Regions from separate parts of the Homo sapiens genome. Here region 2 is linked to region 1. The links are contacts of gene promoters, found by promoter capture Hi-C in blood cells and fetal thymus (Javierre and others, 2016). All regions are on one chromosome and are shown on one strand. The core of a region is centred on a gene start or on the middle of the fragment in contact, and the rest is flanking DNA. Distances in the headings are between cores, read along the strand shown. Region 1 holds the start of MRPL19 (mitochondrial ribosomal protein L19). Region 2 overlaps LOC124905975 (a long non-coding RNA gene).

Evidence for each region. Contacts are between HindIII fragments. The CHiCAGO score rates a contact against its expected background, and 5 or more counts as called.
Region 2: a fragment that was not itself captured here is called in contact with the fragment with the promoter of MRPL19 in region 1 in 2 of 17 cell types (total CD4 T cells and total B cells); the score reaches 11.4 in total CD4 T cells.

The regions. Positions count from the first base shown.
Region 1 is chr2:75,644,427-75,649,403 of GRCh38, forward strand. It overlaps MRPL19 (mitochondrial ribosomal protein L19), which reads left to right and starts at 2,357. Exons shown (of 6, transcript NM_014763.4): 1 at 2,357-2,484; 2 at 2,676-2,793. The coding sequence starts at 2,382. RefSeq lists enhancers at 2,157-2,451, 2,287-2,586. The HindIII fragment of the contact is 2,636 bases long and covers 2,169-4,804 here.
Region 2 is chr2:15,585,276-15,590,252 of GRCh38, forward strand. It overlaps LOC124905975 (a long non-coding RNA gene), which reads right to left. Exons shown (of 2, transcript XR_007086224.1): 2 at 2,994-4,977. Among named protein-coding and RNA genes, the nearest start is that of DDX1, 4.1 kb to the right of the region's middle. The HindIII fragment of the contact is 6,453 bases long and covers 1-4,977 here.

The sequences.
Region 1 (4,977 bases), core at 1,107-3,606:
ATACGGGAGAAAATTAGATAAGATTCTTTAGGTTCATTCTTCCAATTTTGTAAAACTCTACACAACTATTCCTTCATCTGTGGAAGAGGAGAGGGCAGCAGGAGTGGCTTGGCAATGTCTAGTAAATCCTGCTGTCCTCCTGTGAAGGTCTGTCTTTTATTTCTCTGCCCCTACCTTTAGGACCAATCCCAGCAAGAGTGAAGGCCACGTGTTCTGGGCATGGTTAATACAGAAAAATCTTCACCACTGCCAGTCATGATTATCTTTGCCTCTCCTCCCTTTTACTCTTAAGGGCTTGAAGTCTACTTTTTCGGGTAGGTAGAAGAGCCAAAATATTGCTCATCTGAAATTTTGGTTGTGAGATTCCTTGTCATTTATAGAATAAATTCTTGTTCTAATCAAAGAAGCTAGAGTTAAAATAGAAGGCCCTGTCTTTCTTCACAGCATCTTGAATTCTGTGCTCAAAACATGGCCCTGTTCCTCAGGCTGATGTAACAGCTCATGTTCTTCAGGATGGCAAGTCAGAGTATAGAGGCCAAGCTGCAGAGGTTGGTTGCTTTTATGAGCATTTGACTTCTGTCAAAAGTAAACAGTAAGGCTTTAAACTGGGGAAAGGAAAGAACAGGGTATGCATTTCTGAGCCATCTTTTTTTGGTTGCTGCGTGAAGGACTGGAGGTAACCAGAGGCAAGAAGACTAATGAGAAGGCTGTTGCAGGGATCTCCAGGGATCCTGAAGAGAGAAAATATGTTGACCTAGATTGGAAATATGGATGGGAGGATGAGAAAGTATATGGATTCCTGAGATATTTGACGGTGTCAGGCATAGTTTTTGGAACTTCATCCAGGAGGAGACAGGGAGGAATCAAGAATGGCACTGAGATTTTTGGCTTAGGCAAGAGAGTGGATGCTGAAGCCATTCCTTGAGATAGCCAATACTGGGAAGGAAGTCTGGAGCTGAAAAAGATGAACTCAGTATGGATAGGCTGAATTTGAGGTAGCTTTGGGACATTAATGCAACTGGAATGACTATTATGTAGTTAAATTATCACATTACTCTAAGTGTTCAATCCTTATATAACCACTGCTGAAATAACAAATTCCAAATTTCTTTTTTTGTGTGTGTTTCTTTTTCTGTTTTTTTGAGACGGAGTTTCGCTCTTGTTGCAATGGCGCGATCTCGGCTCACTGCAACCTCTGTCTCCCAGGTTCAAGCGATTCTCCTGCCTTAGCCTCCCAAGTAGCTGGGATTACAGGAGCCTGCCACCACACCTGGATCATTTTTTTTATTTTTGGTAGAAACGGGGTTTCACTATGTTGGCCAGGCTAGTCTCAAACTCCTGACCTCAGGCGATCTGCCCGCCTCGGCCTCCCAAAATGCTGGGGTTAAAGGCGTGAGCCACTGCGCCCGGCTGTGTGTTTGTTTCTTAGAGATACGGTCTCACTATATTGCCCAGGCTGGTTTCCAACTCATGAGCTCAAGGGACCCTCCTGTCTCGGCCTCCCACAGTGCTGGGATTACAGGCATGCCTGGCCACGCCCAGTCATTTTCCAAATTTCTTAACAAGACTTACAATTTACCTTTTCCAGCTTTACTTCTCCCACCTATCCATACCCACAGTTGCCCAGCCCAAATTCATTTGGGTTCCTCAAAGGGTTAATGCTTTGTGTAGTCTCAAGGACTATGGGCCAGCAGTTCTGTCAGGAACTATTCTATTCTCTTTTCTGTGCATTCAGCAAAGAATTAGAAAAATTAGCTGGGCGTGATGGTGCGAGACTGTAGTCTTGGCTACTCGGGAGGCTGAGGTGAGAGGATCTCCTGACATCAGGAGTTGGAGGCTGCAGAGCCATGATCGCGCCACTGCACTCCAGCCTGGGTAACAGAGGAAGACCTTGTCTCAACAAAACAAAAGATGTTAGTGAGGGCCCAGGTAGGTGCTAGGTGCTGGGATAACATGGTGAGCAAAAAGAAGACTTTATCCCTTCCCTTGCCTCATTATAGTATAATGGCAGATTTAAATACTAATCTAATAATTACACAAGAAAGAATTGCAAATGAGATCAGAGCTGCCAATCGAAGGCACCCAGTGGGAAAGACGGCCTACAATGGGATTTTCGCATAGCGAAAGCTTGTCTGAGAAGATAGAGTGGATTCATAGGGGGAGGAAAAAGCTTTCTAGGCTGGGAGAACACCCCTGTGGAGGGGTGTAACTTGGCGCATTACGAGGAACTAGAGAAACGTGCACTTTTCCTAAGACATCAGGAAAGGAGCGAGGAGAGACTTATCCATTTTGTCCCATAGCAGCCGCCATATGGTGGCAGACAGCAACAACCTCGTCGCACTGATTACTGGGAGCTGTAGTCTTGACGTGAGCTAGCTGGCATGGCGGCCTGCATTGCAGCGGGGCACTGGGCTGCAATGGGCCTAGGCCGGAGTTTCCAAGCCGCCAGGACTCTGCTCCCCCCGCCGGCCTCTATCGCCTGCAGTAAGTGGAGCCGGACTTGCGAGCTGGGGCGCGTTAGGGGCCCAGGGTCAGGATGGGGGAGGCGAACCTGGAGATCAGAGGCAACCCCAGCGTTGGTCCCCCGTGGGACGCCGGGTTGGGGGAGATTGCGGGGCTCTGCGGGATCTCAGGGTTGGCACGAGAGTTCTGACCTCCGTCGTCCGCTCCCGCAGGGGTCCACGCGGGGCCTGTCCGGCAGCAGAGCACTGGGCCTTCCGAGCCCGGTGCGTTCCAACCGCCGCCGAAACCGGTCATCGTGGACAAGCACCGCCCCGTGGAACCGGAACGCAGGTGAGGCACTGCCCTGGCGCTAGGCCGGCAACTGGGGTCGGTGCGCGCGTGAGCGCGTTCGCGTTCGAGGTCCCGGCTCTAAGGTGGGGGCTGCACCTCCCCCTGCACGAGCAGGTGTGTAGGATTCAAGAGCCAGCGCACCACACTGTTCTTTCTTTCTCACTTCTCCCCAAGCCAGCATTGAACTTCTTTGCAGTTTTATTGAGTCAGAACTTCAAGTAGGGGTTCCCCATATTTTAAACTCTTTTCTCTGTGGTATTTGTCCTGTACCAGAGTTTTTCTCTGAGGTATATCCTGTTTATACCTGTTTACGTCCAAGAGCTCTTCTTTTCTCTCAAAAGACCCTTAACCCTGGATAGGAATCGATTGGCCAACTTAAAAAATTTGCTATGGTTTAGGTTGGAAGTTTTGGCAGACAAAGCACAGTAAAACTGGCCACTAAATTGTGTCTGAAACTTACTCATCAAAATAGTGTGAATAAAAACTTATATGAATGGTGGTAATCTTGGAGGTACATGTAAATTTAAAGGACTTAAGGTCTGAAAAGAGAGCTATGTAGCAACCTTTTTAAAAAGCCAGTTTTCAGAGGAAAAACCTGATATGATTATAGGCTTTTTGAAAGGGCTGTAGATTATTGATTGGATTACTTCTGGGATTTTTAATTTTTTTATTTTTTAAATTTTTTTTAGACAGAGTCTCTCTCAGTCTCCCAGGCTGGAGTGCAGTGGTGATTTTAGCTCACTGCAGCCTCAAATTTCTGGGCTCAAGTGATCCTCCCGCCTCAGGCTCCAGAGTAGCTGGAACTACTGGTACCACGCCTGGCTTTTTTTTTTCTTTTCTTTTTTTAACATTTAAAATATTCCACGGATTTAAATAGAAGTAAACTTGGAGTTAGAGAACTAAGAGATTCAGAAAATATTTCTTCATAAAACTTTGCTTTTGAGGGTAGAAATGGAATATCTCTTTTAAACAGTGGCATTTAATAGAATTCACTTAAATAGGAATGTAAATTATATGCTCTAGAGAACAATTTGACAGAATTTACTAAGTTTAAGTTGTGTATACCTTCTCACTCAGAAAGCACACAACTTAAACTCCTAACGTGTATGTACAAGGAGACAAGCACGAGAATGAATGTAACAGTATTTTTTGTAACAAAATTTAGAGGCAGCCTAGATATCCATCAGTAGGTGAACAGGCAAATACATTCATATGACAGAATATTGTATAGCAGTGAAAAATGAGTGAATTAGAGCTCACTTTTAAACATGGAAGATTTTCACAAATCTGTGTGTAAAAAAAACCTTTAGAATCATTAATGTAGTAGGATGCTATTTTTATGAAGTTTTAAAACTATAGGCCGGGTGCGGTGGCTCACGACTGTTATCCCAGCACTTTGGGAGGCCGAGGAGGGCAGATCACGAAGTCAGGAGTTCGAGACCAGCCTGGCCAACATGGCGAAACCCCCATTTCTACTAAAAGTACAAAAAAAAAAAAAAATTAGCCAGGTGTGGTGGCATGTGCCTATAATCCCAGTTACTCGAGAGGCTGAGGCAGAAGAATTGCTTGAACACAGGATGCCGAGGTTGCAGTGAGCCGAGATCGTGCCACTGCACTCCAGCCTGGGCGATAGAGCAAGACTCTGTCTCAGAAAAAAACAAAAACAAAATTATACGAAACAATATATGTTGCCCAGACATACATGCATATGAAAAGTAAAAAGAAATGTAAGGGGGGCCTTCTGAAACTTTGCCAAACAGTCAAACCTAACTTTACCAGTATTGGTACCAGTTGATATTATGTGTCTCCTGATGTGACAGAATAAGTTGTTCACATCATCTCCCTGTAATATTCTTACTAAAATTATTTAACCTTAGTCTAGGCATGTGGAAACAATCCAGAATCCAGAGATGAGATAGTAGGCCTTGACTGTTCAAAAAAGTTAATGTTATAAAAATACAAAGTTGGAAAAAAGTCCTAGTCTGAGAGACTAATGACCAAATATGTGTGAAGCTTGATTGTATTTTGAATTGGGCAACGAATAGATGTAAAATACCTTCCCAGGATAATGACATACATTTGAGTATGAACTCTGTATTAGACCAAGCTTGTCCAACCCACAGCCCAGGACAGCTTTAAATGTGGCCCAACACAAATCTGTAAACTTTCTTAAAACATATGAGA
Region 2 (4,977 bases), core at 744-3,243, about 60 Mb before region 1:
AGCTAAGCCCTGCCCAAATTCCTGACCCCCTAAATTATGAGCAAATATATTGGCTGTTGTAGTATGCCTCTAAGTTTTGGTGTAGTTGTTCACAGCAACAGATAGCCAAAACTAAAAAGGGAAAGCCATTCTAGGGAGAGGGAACAGCATTTTAAAAACTACAGTGGTGACAGGCAATGTGGCATATGCAAGGATTTCTACACAGTTTGATATGCTAGAAAGTAAAATTTGTGGAGAGTGGCAGGTAATAAGGCTGGAAGTAAGCAGGAGGCTGGACATGGAGGACCATCCTATGGAGGGTGGATTCAGGAGCCTTACCAACTAAGAGCTGTGTTGAAGGGGAGAGAGTTTGTTAATGGAAAGACTGACCATAGCAAGATTCAAGATCCAGTGCAAGTACTCCTGAGTCGTTTTTTCCCTCCTAACAGGTAGATCTGGGGCAACCTACACGGACAGCATTTATGGAGGGGGAAGGTTACTGTTACTTGTGTGAAATGATGGGTAGGTTTGTATTCTATATTGTGAGGAAGGACTTTGTGAGGGAGGGGGTTTATGGATGACGATATTGTATTTTCTACTCAACTTCTTTTAGATTAAAACAAATTCTCTCTCTAGCTGCTTCCTCCTTCTTGGTGGTGAGATCCTCAGAAACTAAGCAGCTGGCTTTATCTTGTTCCAGAAGGACCTGGGAATAGGAACTGAGGAGGAGGGTGGATGTCAATGAAAGGACAAACTAAACAACCTAATTTGACTTGTGTTCCCTAGGCTGGGTTCAGAGTCACATCCTCTACTGTATATGTCACATTTCACCTTCATTTTCATTGTGAGGAAATGGCCATATATTCAGGGATAATTTTGGATGTTTCCCTCACAACTCAGGCCAAATGTCTCCTCCGCCTTTTAGCCAGAATAGCTTGATTATTGCTGTATTATGAAACATTCAAAAAATGTTCCTGAAAGATACATTACACAATATCCATAATGATGTGTGTTTTATTTCCTTTCTTTTCTGTACCTCTTAGCAAAGTGTTGGGCTGCAGAAAAAAGAAATTTTAAAGTGGCTTAACTGGGACATTCTCAAGCTGCAAGAGAGGTCTAGAGGTAGACAGACCTGGGCTTACCATCATTAAGGATCCAGCCTTTTATTTCTGCTTCAGTAGTCTTAGTGTGCGGCTTTTATCTTCGGGACTCATTGCTGACTTTCCAGGCATCATATCAATGTTCCAAAGGAAAAACGGTGCATGCCAGACAGATCTTTCCCTTTTGAAAAGCATTCCTGGAAGTCCCAACCTGGCACTGCCAGTTATATCTCTCCAGGCAGAGCTGAGTCTCTGGGCTGTCTCTCTACAAAGGAATCTGGAAAGGTGATTGTTTTCTTCTTCTTCCAAGTTTCCATTTTTTTTTTCTTTTTGAGAAGAGTGTGGCTGTGTCACCCAGACTAGAGTGCAGTGGTGTGATCACGGCTCACTGCATCCTCGACCTCTTGGGCTCAAAAATGATCCTTCATCATGACATCAGGAGATCAAGACCATCCTGGCTAACACGGTGAAATCCCGTCTCTACTAAAAATACAAAAAAATTAGCCCGGCATGGTGGCGGACGCCTGTAGTCCCAGCTACTCAGGAGGCTGAGGCAGGAGAATGGCGTGAACCCAGGAGGCGGAGCTTGCAGTGAGCCGAGATCACGCTGCTGTACTCTACTGTACTCTAGCCTGGATGACAGAGTGAGACTCCATCTCAAAAAAAAAAAAAAGATCCTCCCCCGGCCAGCTTCCCAAATAGGTGGACTGCAGGTGCGTGCCACCATGCTTGGTTAATTTTTTAAAGTTTTGTTAGAGAAAGGGACTCTATGTTGCCCAGGATGGTCTCAAACTCTTGGGCTTAAGTCATACTCCCACCTTGGCCTCCGAAAGTGGTGGAATTAAAGGCATAAGCCACTACGTCCAGCCTTTTTCAGATTTCTATAATAAAGAAAGGCAATGGGAAAGGGGACTACTATTGTTTGAATGTTCCCTCCAAACTTCACATTGCCAATGTAATTTTAAGAGGGGGGCCTTTAAGAGGTGATTGGCCCATGAAGGTTCTGCTCTCATGAATGGGATTGAAGCCCTTGTAAAAGAAGTTTCATGGAGCATTTGGTCTCTTGCCCTTGTACCTCCTGCCATGTAAGGACATAGAGCTCCTCCCTGCTGGAGGACATGGTGTTCAAGGCACCACCTTAAAAGCAGAAACCAAACCCTCACCAGACTATAAACTTACTGGCACCTTAATCTTGGACTTCCCAACCTCCAGAACTGGCAGAAATAATTTCTGTTCCTTATAAATTAGCCATTCTCAGGTATTTTGCTATAGCAGCACAAATGAGCTAACCTAGGAACTGTGTATGGCTTTTGGGTGGTCCATCTACAGAGGCCTTCCCAGGACCCATCCTCTCTACACTTTCCCAGATACCTGAAGGCATTTTTTTTCAGGTCTGCCTTAGTAGTTGCAAAACCATTTGCTCTACAGTGGGATATAATTATAATATAGCTTACTTGAAAATACATAGCATAATATCTTGGGCCCATGGATAACATAGTAAAACTTCCCTATCACATGATTAGTGGGGCCCAAACTACCCAATTACAGAAAATGTGGGGTTATTCTGAGGTTAAAAAAAAAATACTGGGGGCAAGCCCAGGCTGAGGGGTGTGTGTGTGTGTGTTTGAGACAGAGTCTTGCTCTGTCGCCTAGGCTGGAGTGCAGTGGCATGATCTCGGCTCACTTCAACCTCCGCCTCCTGGGTTCAAGTGATTCTCCTGCCTCAGCCTCCCAAGTAGCTGGGATTACAGGCGCCCGCCACCAAGCACGGCTAATTTTTTGTATTTTTAGTAGAGACAGGGTTTCACCATGTTGGCCAGGCTGGTCTTGAACTCCTGACCTCAGGTAATCCACCCACCTCGGTCTCCCAAAGTGCTGGGATTACAGGCATGAGACACCACGCTCAGCCATATGTGTTTTTTAATTATAATTTTTTAAACAGCTTTATTAAGGTATAATTTAAATACCATAAAATTCACTAATGTACAATTCAATGATTCACAGAGCTGTGCAACCAGCACCACAATCCAGTTGTTGAAGACTTCCATCACCCGCCTTAAATGTCGCACGTCCATTTGTATAAATGGAGACAGATGAACAAAAGCCTACGCTGGGAGTTTTTAGGGTCCAGTCCAATCTCTTCTCAGTTTGGCTACAGTTTGGTGCCACCTGGTGGTGTCTGTCCTGGTTTCTGGGACCAGGCCAGGGTTTCTAGGAATCTCCCAGTTAGTAGGCAACCATTAAATCAACCTATTCTTGGGGAGACTAGACCAGCAAAATACCAGACTGAAAGGCACCCATCCTCTATCTTTTGGTTTGGTGAAGGGCCTGGCTGCTGTTTCTCTGCCTGGTGTTATTCTACCTGCCAAGGAGAGGAGCCAATCATACCCCAATTCACATATCCCAATTTGCATTACTGAGGGCACTGCAACACATACATACAAATATCTATAATTATTAAAGCAGTATATTAAGTGAGCTGAACTTGATAAGGCACAAACAGAAAACATTATCTGTTACCTTGAAATCATCTCTATGGGTTATTTCTTTCCCTGACCTAGATGAAGTCTCTGGCATCTTCCAGAGCTTTTCTGGTCACTCTGAGACAATGAAGAGTTGTCTGGTTACTTTCATCTAATTATACCCTCGTTTCTGTAAACTATCATGTCCAGGATCGTGATTGAAATTCACAACTTCAACCAACATCATGGCTTCCTCCTCTTCCTGCTTGGCCTATTCCACGCCAGAAGCCTGCAGTGGGATGGAGGATGGGGTCAGTCTCTTTTCTGTACTCGCCTCTCCCATTAGCTGTTGTTTCTGACTCCTGGGAAGGATAAAGTCTAGGGGATGGGGTGGCGGGTGGGTACACACCTTTATCTGGCTGGGTTTATGGTGATCTGATTCTGGTGCTTTCTGGCTTAGACATGCTCAAGGCTGATTGTTTCTCTTAGAGGGAACTTTTTGTGGTATCTTGGAGATTCTCCTTGCTGGCATCCTCCACATGCAACTCCCATGAGACAAGAGATATCTCTTCTCCAGTTTGGAAGGTAAGGATGCCACTGCGTTCTTTGGGGGGTCTGTGTGCTGAATCATTTAGCTCCTCCGGGAAGTCTCTTGGGCACATTCCCTTTGAAGAAAACTTCCAGTCCACTCTCCACAGATCTATTTATCCCTTGGGGAAAAAATGTCACACGATTCCCCCACAGTTAACTCCTGCAGCAGGCTTCTCTCTCCTTCTCTCTGTCTCTTTTTCTGCCCTGCCACCTCAGGTCCTCCTAGGGACGGCTTCTCAGAGCAGTCCTTACGCTTCCCAAACTCTCAGATCAAAAGTTCTCAGAGTATTTCCCTGAAATGCATTCTTTTCACAGAAATCTTTTCTCTTAATTTGCATCTTTAATTTTTTCATACTTTATCTCTTCCTTGAGACAGGGTCTTGCTCTGCCACCCAGGCTGGAGTACAGTGACACCATCATAGCTCACTGCAGCCTCCACCTCCTAGGCTCAAGAGATCCTCCCACCTCAGCCTCCCAAGTAGCTGAGACTACAGGTGTGCACCATGCCCAACTATTTTTTAATTTTTTTTGGAGATGGGGGTCTCATTATGTTGCCCAGGCTGGTCTTGAACTTCTGGGCTCAAGTGATCCCCTTGCCTCAGCCTCCCAAGGTGTTGGGATTATAGACATGAGCCATCATGCCCAGCCGATTTTTCACACTTTAAAGGTGGGCATTGGCAAAAGGCACAAAAATTAGATTTCAGATTTCCCTTTGGCAAGTCCTGCATAATATGGGTCTTGTATCTCTCCTTGGAATGTGGGGGTACTTGGTATCCATTCAAAACTGGTACACTGCATAACTCTCAGGGTCTTATTTAGACAAAATATAACAAGAATAGAGAATA